Linked DNA regions of Homo sapiens: all the other regions are linked to region 4. The links are contacts of gene promoters, found by promoter capture Hi-C in blood cells and fetal thymus (Javierre and others, 2016). All regions are on one chromosome and are shown on one strand. Each heading gives the region's core, a stretch centred on a gene start or on the middle of the fragment in contact. The rest is flanking DNA. Distances are from core to core; before and after follow the strand shown.

Region 1 (2,700 bases), core at 123-2,622, 370 kb before region 4:
TAAAAAAACACAAGGAGGCCTGGCATGGTGGCTCATGCCTGTAATCCTAGCACTTTGGGAGGCTGAGGTGGACAGATCATGAAGTCAGGAGTTTGAGACCAGCCTGGCCAATATGGTGAAACCCTGTCTCTACTAAAAATAAAAAATAAAAATAAAAAAAAAATTAGCCGGGCGTGGTGGCATGCACCTGTAATCCCAGCTACTCGGGAGGCTGATGCAGGAGAATTGCTTGCACTCAGGAGGCGGAGGTTGCAGTGAGCTGAGATCACACCACTGCACTCCAGCCTGGGTGACAGAGCAAGACGCCATCTCAAAAAATAAATAAATAAAAATACAAAGATTAAAAGGATAGAAAATGATCTACCAGGCACAGTAAGCATGAGAAAGCTGAGGATTAATATGAGACAAAGCAGATGTGGAGACAGAGTGTCACATAAGAAGAAATGGAACAACTTCCCAGGACTATATAACAAAGCTACCGCTACACATCCAATAACAGGACACCACAACCCATGAGACAAAATGGGCACAACTAATGGGAGAAATAGATCCACAATCAGAGAGATTTTAATACTGGCTTCTCATTAATAGACCAAACACACACACACACACACACAAAAAAAAAACAGTAAGGAACAGATCTCAACAGTATTACCACTAACATACTAAATCACGAATTTAAATAATACACTTTTGGGTCACAGAAGAAATAAAGGAGAGCATGTTTTAAACAATAATATAAACATCAAAATTCGCAGGATGCAGCCAACTATGGGTTAGAAGGAAATTTACAAGTTTTTTAGGGAAAATTTATAGCTTTAAATGCCTGTTTTTTGAAAAAAGGCTCAAAAACAGTACTCCAAAGAAGCAAAAAAAAAAAAAGAGCAAGCTAAAGCCAAAGTAAACAGAGGAAATAAAAAAGAGAAATCAATAAAATAAAAAAGCAAAGAGTAAAGAAAATTAATAATATAAAACAGTTCCTTAGTAAACATTTAAAAAGTTGATAAGGCCTGGAATGGCTGCTCACGCCTGTAATTCCAGCACTTTGGGAGGCTGAGGCTGGAGGACAACTTGAGGCCATGAGTTCAAGACCAGCCTGGGCAATATATCAAGACCTGTCTCTACAACAAATATGCTTTAAATAAGCAGGGTGTGATGGAGCATACCTATAGTCCCAGCTACTCAGGAGGCTGAAGCCGGAGGACTGTTTGAGCCCAGGAGGTCGAGGCTGCAGTGGGCTATGATCACAGCACTGCACTCCAGCCTGGGTAACAGAGTGGGAACCCTGTCTCAAAAAAGTCAATAAATAAATTAAATAAGCATCCCTAATTTAAAAGAAATAAGTAAAACACTTGGCCAAATATTTCACCAAAAAAGACATATACAAATTTATGGTAAGCACATGAATAACCACTCCACATTACTAGTCATCGGGGAAATGCAAATTAAACCCACAATGAGCTGCCACTTTCAACACAATAGGATTAGTAAAATTAAAAACAGCAGATGTTGGCAAAGATAGGAAGTAACTAGGCCGGGCGAGGTGGCTCATGCCTGTAATCCCAGTACTTTGGGAGGCCGAGGCGGGTGATCACCTGAGGTCAGGAGTTCAAGACCAGCTTGATTAACATGGTGAAACCCCGTCTCTACTAAATACAAAAAATTAGCTGGCGCATGCCTGTAATCCCAGCTACTTGGGAGGCTGAGGCAGGAGAATCACTTGAGGTGGAGGTTGCAGTGAGCAGAGATAGCACCATTGCACTCCAGCCTGGGCAAAAAGAGCAAAACTCTTGTCTCAAACAAATAAATAAGTAAATAAAAATTTAAAAAGATATGAAGCAACTGGACTGTTCAGATATTGCTGGTGGAAACGTAAATGTTGCAAGTGTTTGGAAAATAATTTCACAGTTTAAGTCAAACATACTTTTACCATGTGACCCGCCAGCAATTCCCAAGAGAAATGAAATTAAGTGCACACAAGCATTTGTATGCAAATGTTCACAGCAGCTTCATTCATAATAGGCTCCAACTGGAAGCAACCTAAGTGCTCATCCCAAGAACAGATTCAATAAATTGTGATATATTTTTCACTAGATACAATTTAGTCCCCCACCCCCCTCAAAGGAATAAACCACTGATACAAACAATGGCATGGGTGAATATCATACAGGCACTATGTGAATGAAAGAAGCTGATGTGAGTTCATTTCACACTGTGTGATCCCATTCATACAGTTCTAGAACAGGTTAGGCTCCAACTATAGTGATAAAAATGTCGTCAGTGGTTGCCAGGTGTACAATGTAGGTATGGGGAAGACTGACTACAAAGGAAACTTTCTGGGAAGACAGAAATGTCTATTTTCTTCAGTAGGATAGTGACTATGTGGTGCCCTCATTTGTTACAAAACACTGGCCTATGTTAAAAAAGACACGATGAACGTACTTAACAGAAGTATTGTCATTTCCAAAAAGATGACAGATATTTCTGTAAAGAGAACCCAAAACACTAAATGTTTGTTTATAAGGGATCTAAATTAGGGAATCTATTACGCAATGCTAGATCCATAATTAAAAATTAAATGAGGCCGGGTGCGGTGGCTCACGCCTGTAATCCCAGCACTTTGGGAGGCCAAGGGGGGGCAGATCACCTGAGGTCAGGAGTTTGAGACCAGCCTGGTCAACATGGTGAAACGCTGTCTCT
Region 2 (2,700 bases), core at 142-2,641, 410 kb before region 4:
CATTTTAACTGTGTAAGATGATATCTCATAATAGTTTTGGATTTCCATTTCTCTGATGATCAATGATACTGAGCACTTTTTTCATAAGCTTGTTTGCTTTTTTTTTTTTTTTTTGAGACAGAATCTTGCTGTATTGCCCAGGCTGGAATGAAGTCTTGGCTTGATCTCTGCTCACTGCCACCTCTGTCTCCCAGGTTCAAGCAATTCTCCTGCCTCAGCCTCCTGAGTAGCTGGGATTACAGGCGTGTGCCACCATGCCTAGCTAATTTTAGTATTTTTAGTAGAGGCAGGGTTTTGCCATGTTGGCCAGGTTGGTCTTGAACTCCTGATCTCAAGTCATCTGCCCGCCTCGGCCTCCCAAAGTGCTGGGATTACAAGCATGAGCCACCACACCTGGCTTGTTTTTTAATTTATTTTTATTTTTTTGAGACAGGGTCTCGCTCTATTGCCCAGGATGGAGTGCAGTGGCATGATCTCAGCTCACTGGAGCCTGGACCTCCCAGGCTCAAGCTATCTGCCCATCTCAGCTTCCCAAGTAGCTGGCACTACAGGTATGAACAACCATGCTCGGTTAATTTTTGTATTTTTTGTAGAGATGGGGTTTTACCGTGTTGCCGAGGCTGGTCTTGAACTCCTGTGCTAAAACAATCTGCCAGCCTTGGCCTCCCAAAGTGCTGAGCTTACAAGCATGACTCAACATGCCTGGCCTCGTCTGCATTTGTATGACTTCTTTTGAGAAATCTCTATTCAAATATTTTGCCCATTTTAATATCCGATTATTAGACTTTTTCCTAAGAGTTATTTCAGCTCCTTCTACATTCTGGTTATTCATCCTTTGTCAACTGGGCAGTTTGCAAATGTTTTCTCCCATTCTGTGGGTTGTCTCTTCACTTTGCTGGTTGTTTCCTTTGCTGTGCAGAAGCTTTTTAACTTGATGTGATCCCATTTGTCCATTTTTGCTTTGGGTGCCTGTGCTTGAAATCAATGTCCTAGAGGGTTTCTCCAACGTTTTTTCTTGTAGAGTTTCATAATTTGAGGTCTTAGATATAATTCTTTTTTTTTTTTTTTTTTTTTTGAGATGGAGTCTTACTCTGTCACACAGGTTGGAGTGCAGTGATGCAATCTTAGCTCACTGCAACCTCTGCTGCCCAGGTTCAAGCGATTTTCTTGCCTCAGCCTCCTGAGTAGCTGGGATTACCGGTGCCTGCCACCGTGCCCGGCTAATTTTTGTATTTTTAGTAGAGACGGGGTTTCAACACCTTGGCCAGGCTGGCCTTGAACTCTTGACCTTGTAATTCACCCGCCTTGGCCTCCCAAAGTGCTGGGATTACAGGCATAAGTCGTCACGCCCGGCCTTAGATATAATTATTTAATCCACTTTGATTTTATTTTTGTATGTGGCAGGAGATAGGGGTCTAGTTTCATTCTTCTGCTTATGGATATCCAGTTTCCCCAGCACCACTTGTAGAAGAGACTCTTTTCCCCAGTGTATGTTCTTAGCACGTGTGTTGAAAATGAGTTCGCTGTACGTGTGTGGACTTGTTTCTGGATTCTCTATTCTGTTCCATTTGTCTGTGTGTTGGTTTTTATGCCAGATCCCCATATTGTTTTGGTCCCCACAGGTCTGAAATACAATTTGAAGTCAGGTAATTCCTCCAGGTTTGTTATTTTTGCTTAGGATAGCTTTGCCTATTCTGGGTCTTTTGTGGGTCCATATAAATTAAAGGATTTTTTTTTCTATTTTTGTGAAGAATGTCATTGGTATTCTGGTAGACATTGCATTGAATCTGTAGATTACTTTGAGTACTATGGACATTTTAAGAATACTGATTCTTGTTATCCATGAACGTAGAAAGCTTTCCAGTTTTTGGGTGTTCTTTTCAATTTGTTTCCTCCATGTTTTATAGTTTTCATTATAGAGCTCTTTCACTTCTTTGGTTAATTCCTAGGATTTAATTTTATTTGTGACTTCTGTAGATGGGACTACAATACAGGCATTATTAATCTTACATTACAGAAACTGAGCCATAAAAATGAGTTTTGGACCTGCCTATATAAATTAAAATGACAGGTGTACCCAATAAGGACCCTATTAAATAAAAAAACACAATTCCACTAAAAAATATAAACAAATAAAAGCCAGTTATTATGTCCTGAGGAATTTAAATGTGGCACTGGACATAGCCAATTATGGAAGATCTTACAAGTGAGATATACTACATAGTATGACACAGGCTAAACCTGTAGATTATATGCACTAAGGGTTGTTTTTTTTATTGAGACAGAGTCTTGCTCTGTCGCCCAGGCTGGAGTGCAGTAGCACGATCTCGGCTCACTGCAACTTCCACCTCCGGGGTTCAAGCAATTCTCCCACCTCATCCTCCTGAGTAGCTGGGATTACAGGCGTGAGCTACCACGTTTGGCCATGTTGGCCAGGCTGTCTCAAACTCCTGACCTCAAGTGATTCGGCCACTTTGGCTTCCCAAAGTGCTGGGATTACAGGCGTGAGCCACTGTGCCCAGCCATCATTTCTTTCTTTCTTTTCTTTTCCCTCCCTCCCTTCCTTTCTTTTTTTTTTTTTTTTTTTTTTTTTTTTTGGAGATGGAGTTTCACTCTTGTTGCCCAGGCTGGAGTACAATGGCACGATCTTGGCTCACCGCAACCTCCACTTCCTGGGTTCAAGCGATTCTCCTGCCTCAG
Region 3 (2,700 bases), core at 170-2,669, 390 kb before region 4:
TGTCATTGACCAAAACATGGTTACTTGGGGCATTATTGTATATACTATGGAATGAGGAGAGTATGTTTAATTTTATCAGGTATGGCGTTCAAAGATATCTATATCAGAACGAACAGAGTAGCTTCCAGTTATTTCTTTCATTTTGGAAATGTTTGGAAGTTATCTTTTCCTTGAAGGTTTAGAAAACTTTACCTGTGAATAAATCGATCCTTCTGTGAGAACTCCCTAATTATTAGTCTGCTAAGATTTTCTACTTCCCAATTTAGATTTTTCTTACTATACTATTCTTCTGGTTAATAGGACTTCATTGAGGTTTTTGAACTTAAAAGCACTATCTATTTCTTTGAAAATATCAAATCCATTATTTCTTTCTGGTCTGCAACTCCATGGTTCTTGAAAATTGTATTTAAAGATTACCCTATTTAAGGGTTACCTTATTTGAATTTTTCTCCTTTTGAAAAGAATCAATGCTTGAAATTTTTAATCAAAATCATCAGTTTTATGCTTTAAGTTTTTTTTCCCCTTAATTCTTCTATCCCCCAAAATGTTAGGCTGAATATAGCAGTAAAAAAGCAGAAATGATAAAAGAAGGCTTAAGGTGACTGGGTATATTTCCAGATAATTTAATGTGCCATGACTGATGATATCAATAAAGTCATATGCAAGGTTACACAAAGTCATAAAAACTATCTCTTTACATCATTGTTACTTTAAGAAAATTAGATTATATATTTTAATTCCTAGAAAAATTGTTGCAGTGAATTGCTGATCACAAAAACAGAATGCAATTATCGTACATGAACTTAAGTACACCGATGGTGAAACGGAGGTTTTCTGGATCATCCAGGACGGCGGAAGTCTTGAAGCACTGTTTGTAAGTTCCCGTTATTAGAGAAAGGTAATTTCTAGGACTTTCCCTAAAGCATCAACCTGCTTAAGGGTTAGACACAGCACCAGATCTACAATAAATTAAATAATACATTTGACATGTTTGCCTCCCTGTAGGTACTGCAGTGATGATTTACAAATACTTTCTCTTCATATTTCACTGGCAAGTGGTCAAATATTTCTGGTCCTCTATTAACATGTATCAATAATCAGAAATATTATTATCGATATGAAATAAGCAAACTGAATAATTATCAACCAACCACCATAGAAAAGGCAAGGCAGGCTAAACGTGGTAGCTCACGCCTGTAATCATAACACTTGGGAGGCCAAGGTGGGTGGATCACTTGTGGCCAGGAGTCAAGACCAGCCTGGCCAACACAGCGAAACCCCATCTCTACTAAAAATATAAAAACATTAGCCAGGCATGGTGGCGCACGCCTATAGTCCCAGCTACTTGGGAGGCTGAGGCATGAGAATCGCTTGAACCCAGGAGGTGGAGGCTGCGGGGGGCCAAGATTGTGCCACTGCACTCCACCCTGAGTGACAGAGCGAGTCTCTGTCTCAAAACAAACAAACAAACAAACAAAAAAACATGAAAAGAAATGACATTAAGTGTCGTGGCTGTTAAAAAGATAAGACATGGTCCTTGAGATGAAGAAGCCTGAACTCACAAAGATATAAAATAAGCATAAAGAAACATGTTAAGCGACAAAAGGCTGGGGGAAACAAGGACAGTTCATGGACGTAGTGACATTTAAGTAAGGCTTTTGAGAGAGTAGTATTTAAATGGGTAAGGAAGTAGAGAGGGGGCCAGGTGTGGTGGCTCACACCTGTAATCCCAGCACTTTGGGAGGCCAAGACAGGAAGAGTGCTTCAGCCCAGGAGTTCAGGACCAGCCCAGGCAACATAGGGAAACCCTACGCACAGATAAAATTAAAAGATTAGCCAGGCGTGGTGGCATGTGCCTGCAGGCCCAGCTACTCGAGAGGATCACTTCGGCCTGGGAGATTGAGGCTGCAGTGAGCTATGACTGCACCACTGTACTCCAGCTTGGGAAATAGAGCAAGACCCTGTCTTAAAGCAATAAAAGCTGGGCACAGTGGCTCATGCCTATAATCCCAGCACTTTGGGAAGCCAAGACAGAAGGATAGATTGAGGCTAGGAGTTTGGGACAAGCCTAGGCAGCAGAGCAAGACCTCGTCTCTACAAAAAATAAAAAATAATTAGCTGGGTGTGGTGGCACGAGCCTGTGTCCCCAGCTACTTGGGAGGTTGAGATGAGAGGATCACATGAGCCTGGCAAATCGAGGCTACAGTGAGCTGTGACCACACTACTGCATTCCAGTCTGGGCGACAAAGTGAGAGAGCTTGTCCTTAAAAAAAAAAAAAAAAAAAAAAAAGCCGGGTGCAGTGGCTCACACCTGTAATCCCAGCACTTTGGGAGGCTGAGGCGGTATATCACTTGAGGTCAGGAGTTCTAGACCAGCCTGGTCAAAATGGTGAAACCCTGTCTCTACTAAAAACACAAAAAATTAGCTGGGCGTGGTGGTGGTGTGAGCCTATAATCCCAGCTACTCAGGAGGCTGAGGCAGGAGAATCGCTTGAACTTGGAAGGCAGAGGTTGCAGTGAACTCAGATTGCACCGCTGCACTGCAGCCTGGGAGACAGAGAGAGACTCAAAAAAAAAAAAAAAAAAAAAAAGGAAAAAGAGGATGAAGGATGTTTGAAAATGCATGAAGTAGGGTGTACATGCATGATAATATGGGGCATATGGTTTATGAGACTATAGCTTGCCCTGAATTTGGTGAAG
Region 4 (2,700 bases), core at 21-2,520:
GCGGCTCCACTGCATACAGCTCCCTCACACTGCATGGTGTTATCACGCTGCAAGCTGTTACCTAGGGGAGATGAGCCCGCAGCAGCAGCTTCAAAGGTCATGAAATCAGGGAGCCCACAGGCCCCACAAGGGTGCAGAGGCCAATAGGGCAGGCAAGCTTTCTGCCTTGTTTTCATGGGGCTGGGAATGGGATGTTTCCATTATTGGTGAACCTCAGATTGTTTTTGAGCCCCAACTGCTCTAGTCATTTCCTTCTCCCTTAAACCCCTAAAGGCAGCACTCTACCTTCTGCCTTCCAGAGTTGCTGCATCGACATCCATCCCCAGCCTTGGATGAGTCCTGGGGTGAGCTGGTGTGCTCTCTCCTGAGACTGTCTACGCAGGGCCACTGACTGCATTCCTTCCTTGGTGTCTCTGTCTACTGTGGTGGGCTGTAACCCTCACCATCATCCCTTTGGAGCCTTTGTTTTCATCCAGGTGCCCACACCTCTAAATGCCCCTTTATTTTACTCTCTGCTAGACACATCTTCCTATTACGTCCCATTCTGCTTTAAAAACCTTTGAGAAGCCCGCTGGGCGGATGCCACTTGCCCAATCTCGTTCCCTCGTCTCTCCTCCCAGGCAGGTGTTTTCAGGGAACTTCTCCATCCGCTGGAATCGGGTCGTCCCTGAGATGGCTCGCGACCCCAGGGCTGGGTACATGGATATTTAGGACTATAGGTCTGGGGCTGCTGCCCGAGCCCTTTTTGCCAACATGGCCTGACTCCTCCACTGGTTTTTAGTGCCTTAGGGAGAGGCGGATGGCCCCATGGGAAGGGCGCTGGACGGAGGGTGGAGGCGAAGCTGCCCACTGCCTGCCTCAGAGCTGAGAAGGCCAGGTGCAAAGCCCGCCCTGTAGCTTGAGCCCATCGCTTGGGGGCACCGAAGCCATCTAGGTACTAACGCCCTGCGGTACAGCCGGTGGGATTCCCAGCGACTTCCTTAGGAGTCCGCGCTCCATGGGAGTCCCCCCGCACCGGGTCGCCTCGCCCTGGCGGCTGCCCGCGCCTCCTCCCGCTTCCTCCAGGCCACAGGGCTCCCGACCCGACTGTGACGCACTGCACCCCCGCCCCTTCTCTTCCCGTTGATCCAGCGCGCCGCGCTTTCTCCTCCTCTGGTCTCGCTGCTTCCTCTCCCCCTCGAATCCAGTCCTGGTTTCCCCGCCGCCAGCCTCCCTCCCTCCCGGCGGGACTCGCTCCCCGCCCCGCCCCGCCCCGCCCCCGCCTCGCCTGTCTTCACCGCGGTCCGCTCGGTTCACCGCCTGCCCCCTCTCCCTGCCGCCCGGCCCGGCTCGCCCAGTCCAGTGGCTCCAGTCCGGATCTCGCCGCCGCCCGGCCCAGGTGCGAGTCCCCACTGCTGGGGAGGCGGCGGGCCCCGGCTCCCCTCGGCCGCCTAGCCCGCCTCGCCCGCCCGGGGTTGGCGGGGAGGGAACAGCTGGGCGGCCCCAGAGCCCCTCGGAGGACAATGCGCCCGGCGCTCGGCCACCCTCGCTCGGTCTCCTCCGCGTCCGGTTCCTTCCCGCCGCCCCCGGCAGCCGCCCGGCTGCAGCCCCTCTTCCTCCGCGGGGGCTCCTTCCGCGGCCGGAGAGGCTCCGGCGACAGCAGCACCAGCACCAGCACCAGCCGCGGGGGAGGCGGCGGCAGACGCGGCGGGGGCGGCGGCTCCCCGAGCAGCAGCACGGGCGCCGAGCGCGAGGACGACGACGAGAGCCTCAGCGTCAGCAAGCCGCTGGTGCCCAACGCCGCGCTCCTGGGGCCGCCGGCTCAGGTGGGCGCCCCCGCCGGCCCCGCGCCTGTCGCCTTCTCCTCCTCAGCGGCCACCTCCTCCTCCACCTCCACGCCCACCTCCTCCTGCAGCATGACAGCCGCGGACTTCGGCGGGGGCGCCGCGGCCGGGGCCGTCGGGGGCCCCGGGAGCCGCTCGGCGGGGGGCGCGGGCGGCACCGGGACCGGCAGCGGCGCCTCCTGCTGCCCGTGTTGCTGCTGCTGCGGCTGCCCAGACCGCCCCGGCCGCAGAGGTCGGCGCCGCGGCTGCGCCCCCAGTCCCAGGTGCCGCTGGGGCTACCAGGCGCTGTCCGTGGTGCTGCTGCTGGCGCAGGGCGGCCTGCTGGACCTGTACCTCATCGCCGTCACCGACCTGTACTGGTGCTCCTGGATCGCCACTGACCTGGTGGTGGTGGTGGGCTGGGCCATCTTCTTCGCCAAGAACAGCCGGGGCCGTCGGGGCGGCGCAGCCAGCGGCGCGCACAACCACCACCTGCACCACCACCACGCCGCGCCGCCCCTGCATCTGCCCGCCCCCTCGGCCGCTACCGCTGGGGCCAAGGCACGCGGAGCCCGCGGGGGCGCCGGCGGCGCGGGGGGCGGCCTGGGGGCGGCCGCGGCAGCGGGCGAGTTCGCCTTCGCCTACCTGGCCTGGCTTATCTACTCCATCGCCTTCACTCCCAAGGTGGTGCTGATCCTGGGCACGTCCATCCTAGACCTCATCGAGCTACGCGCGCCCTTCGGCACCACGGGCTTCCGTCTCACCATGGCGCTGTCGGTGCCCCTGCTCTACAGCTTGGTGCGGGCCATCAGCGAGGCGGGCGCGCCCCCGGGATCGGCAGGACCCCTGCTGCTGCAGCCCCAGCGGCACCGCGCGGCCGGATGCTTCCTGGGCACGT
Region 5 (2,700 bases), core at 39-2,538, 320 kb before region 4:
AGGATTTGTAGAATGGCTGCTGAGAAGTTTCGTTTGTCCTTTAAGAAAACGAGCTAGAGGGCAGGAAGAGACGCTCAGAAGCAAACAGTACAAAGAAACACACCAGGACATACCACTGGCAGACTGGACAGCAAGTAAATGGAGCCTGATGAAAGAATAGAAAAAGGTTCCACTATTCCAATAGAAGAAAGGGTTTTCTTCCAAGATAAAGTTTAAAAAATAAAACAACTGCAAATGCAAAATGCCATTAACACCTATGACTCATTCAGTCATGAAGCAAAAATGTGAATGATTCTAGGGAAGCCTGTGAATTACTACTATCATCTAGTGATTGGCCAGGCGCGGTGGCTCACTCCTGTAATCCCAGCACTTTGGGAGGCCGAGGAGGGTGGATCATGAGGTCAGGAGTTCAAGACCAGCCTGGCCAAGATGGTGAAACCCCGTCTCTACTAAAAATACAAAAATTAGCCAGGCGGTGGTGGCGGGCGCCTGTAATCCCAGCTACTCGGGAGGCTGAGGCAGAGAACTGCTTGAATCCGGGAGGTGGAGGCTGCAGTGAGCTGAGACCGCACCACTGCACTCCAGCCTGGGCGACAGAGTGAGATTCCATCTCAAAAAACACAAAACAAACAAAAAAACCTGTGGTGTGATCAAAGCTCACTGCAAGCCTTGAACTCCTGGGCTCCAGTGATCCTCCTGCCTCGGCCTCCCTAGTAGCTAGGACTACAAGATGTGCATCAACTACGCCCAACTAATTTAAAAATATATATGTATTTGTAGAAATGGGGGTCTCGCTATGTTGCTCAGGCTGCTCCAGAACTCCTAGCCTCAAGCTATCCTCTCCCATCTTGGCCTCCTGAAGTTCTGGGATTATAGGTGTGAGCCACCACACCTGGCCTGATCTGCATTTTTTAATAAGCTTCCCTCACCATGGATTCCCATGAGCTCCAAAGTGAATAGTGTTAAGGGGACCAAATTCTGAATTTCACACGGAACTCTTCTAGTATGACATGCTCTTGTTTTGCGGTTTTTTCTGTCTTTCCCACCTTGAATCTTCTTCTGAATTCAAAATAGGTAAAGCTGTTGATAATGTAAACAGCTTCCCAACTTTGTATAATTTCAAAGAGACCAGAGTTTGATTCTAGTAGAAGATGGTCAATGAAAATGAAGTCAACAGGTCTGCCACCCGCTTCCTGCAGAGAAATATGTTCAGAACATCCAAATCCTTTCCTTGTGAGAGACAAAAATTGTAAGACAGAGTATGGTGTGTGATATCACCTCCCTATGGAACTTTATTTTATACTTCAACATGTTCCATGAAATTCTTACAAGGTGAGTTATACATCTTAATCACATTTCTGTAAATTCTGTTTCATAAAGGACTTTAGCCAAACAATTATTTATCATCTTTCTTAATCTTGTTTCCATGTAAAATTCTTCAAACCAGAAATAATCTATCAAGACTGGAAAAACAATCTATTCATAGATCCAGGACTGAGACATCTAGATAACTTATTATCCTCTGGCAATATCCTCAAAAAAGAAGGATTCATTCATTCATTCAAGTAACGGGGGGTGGGGTCCACAGAGTAAGACACAGGGAAAGCATTTAACCCCTAGTCAATCTCCCCCGGCTACTTTTTAAAAGAAAGCTTTCATCACGTTAGAATAAATGACGCACTATTCTATACAAATCATGGTGAGTGATTTAAAATTACCATACTACAATACAAATATTATTTGCTAAACTAAAATAAAATTGAAGGGCTCTGTGTTAAGATTATCAGCCTAGTACAGTATCACAGCTGTGCGTTCCATCATATTCCTCCTATATCTGGCAGCAGGAAAGATCTATCTAGGGCCATCCCAGATTCCCAACAACAACCAGTATACTTGCTCCCTCAACACGCATCATTTTAATGTGTTAATAGGCCAGGCATGGTGGCTCACGCCTGTAATCCCAGCACTTTTGAGAAGCCAAGGCAGGCGGATCACCTGAGGTCAGGAGTTCGAGACCAGCCTGGCCAACATGGTGAAACCCCATCTCTATTAAAAATATAAAAATTAGCCGGGCGTGGTGGCATGCACCTGTAATCCCAACTACTCTGGAGGCTGTGGCAGGACAATCACTTGAACCCGGGTTGTGGTAAGCTGAGATCACTCCACTGCACTCCAGTCTGGGTGACAGAGTGAGACTCCATCCCGCCCCCTGCCCCCTGCCCCTCCCCCCCAAAAACAGTGTTAATAAGACCTGACAGTCAGCTGAATACCCATGAAATTAGAAATATAATCATCAACAGATACAAGGCACTACACTTTCTTGAACATTTGGTTACTAAAAAAAAGTCCCAGAAAACACAGGGGATGTCTGTAATGATTGTATAATCATCATGTTGAGAAAGGAGTGGAGGGGTAGGGATCAGAGGGTGGTAGTCAAATTTCTGTTTCTAATAAATCTGTTCGGAGACTTGAAATCAAGTTTTTCTTGTTTTCTTACATCACTTTGCTATATAATGCTATACAACCTTCCCTCTCATTACTTCAAGTCAGATATCAGATCAATAAATCAATAAAAGTCCCAGCTTCACTTCAAGAGACAGGGAATAGACAGTGTGGGATATCATAATAAGTGTAAGGACAGACCTGAATTCCACTCAAATTTTAGTTCCTTAGTTACTAGTGAGACCTACAGAGAGTCAT

The links. The method cuts DNA at HindIII sites, captures the fragments that hold promoters and counts their contacts. A CHiCAGO score of 5 or more calls a contact.
Region 1: a fragment that was not itself captured here is called in contact with the fragment with the promoter of TMEM121B in region 4 in 11 of 17 cell types (naive B cells, total B cells, M0 macrophages and 8 more); the score reaches 8.0 in naive B cells.
Region 2: a fragment that was not itself captured here is called in contact with the fragment with the promoter of TMEM121B in region 4 in 6 of 17 cell types (endothelial precursors, M0 macrophages, M2 macrophages and 3 more); the score reaches 9.2 in endothelial precursors.
Region 3: a fragment that was not itself captured here is called in contact with the fragment with the promoter of TMEM121B in region 4 in 1 of 17 cell types (M2 macrophages); the score reaches 5.0 in M2 macrophages.
Region 5: a fragment that was not itself captured here is called in contact with the fragment with the promoter of TMEM121B in region 4 in 3 of 17 cell types (total B cells, naive B cells and total CD8 T cells); the score reaches 6.7 in total B cells.

Annotation. Positions count from the first base shown.
Region 1 is chr22:17,488,065-17,490,764 of GRCh38, reverse strand. All of the region lies in intron 2 of CECR2 (CECR2 histone acetyl-lysine reader), which reads right to left. Among named protein-coding and RNA genes, the nearest start is that of SLC25A18, 74 kb to the left of the region's middle. The HindIII fragment of the contact is 5,266 bases long and covers 1-2,700 here.
Region 2 is chr22:17,525,184-17,527,883 of GRCh38, reverse strand. All of the region lies in intron 9 of CECR2 (CECR2 histone acetyl-lysine reader), which reads right to left. Among named protein-coding and RNA genes, the nearest start is that of SLC25A18, 37 kb to the left of the region's middle. The HindIII fragment of the contact is 934 bases long and covers 925-1,858 here.
Region 3 is chr22:17,505,426-17,508,125 of GRCh38, reverse strand. The region is part of intron 7 of CECR2 (CECR2 histone acetyl-lysine reader); the gene reads right to left. Among named protein-coding and RNA genes, the nearest start is that of SLC25A18, 57 kb to the left of the region's middle. The HindIII fragment of the contact is 8,417 bases long and covers 1-2,700 here.
Region 4 is chr22:17,119,930-17,122,629 of GRCh38, reverse strand. It overlaps TMEM121B (transmembrane protein 121B), which reads left to right and starts at 1,270. Exons shown (of 1, transcript NM_031890.4): 1 at 1,270-2,700. The coding sequence starts at 1,503. LINC01664 (long intergenic non-protein coding RNA 1664) reads right to left here and starts at 1,035. Exons shown (of 4, transcript NR_103793.1): 1 at 591-1,035. RefSeq lists an enhancer at 312-843 and a silencer at 1,429-1,558. The HindIII fragment of the contact is 5,742 bases long and covers 160-2,700 here.
Region 5 is chr22:17,440,480-17,443,179 of GRCh38, reverse strand. All of the region lies in intron 1 of CECR2 (CECR2 histone acetyl-lysine reader), which reads right to left. Among named protein-coding and RNA genes, the nearest start is that of CECR2, 72 kb to the right of the region's middle. The HindIII fragment of the contact is 733 bases long and covers 922-1,654 here.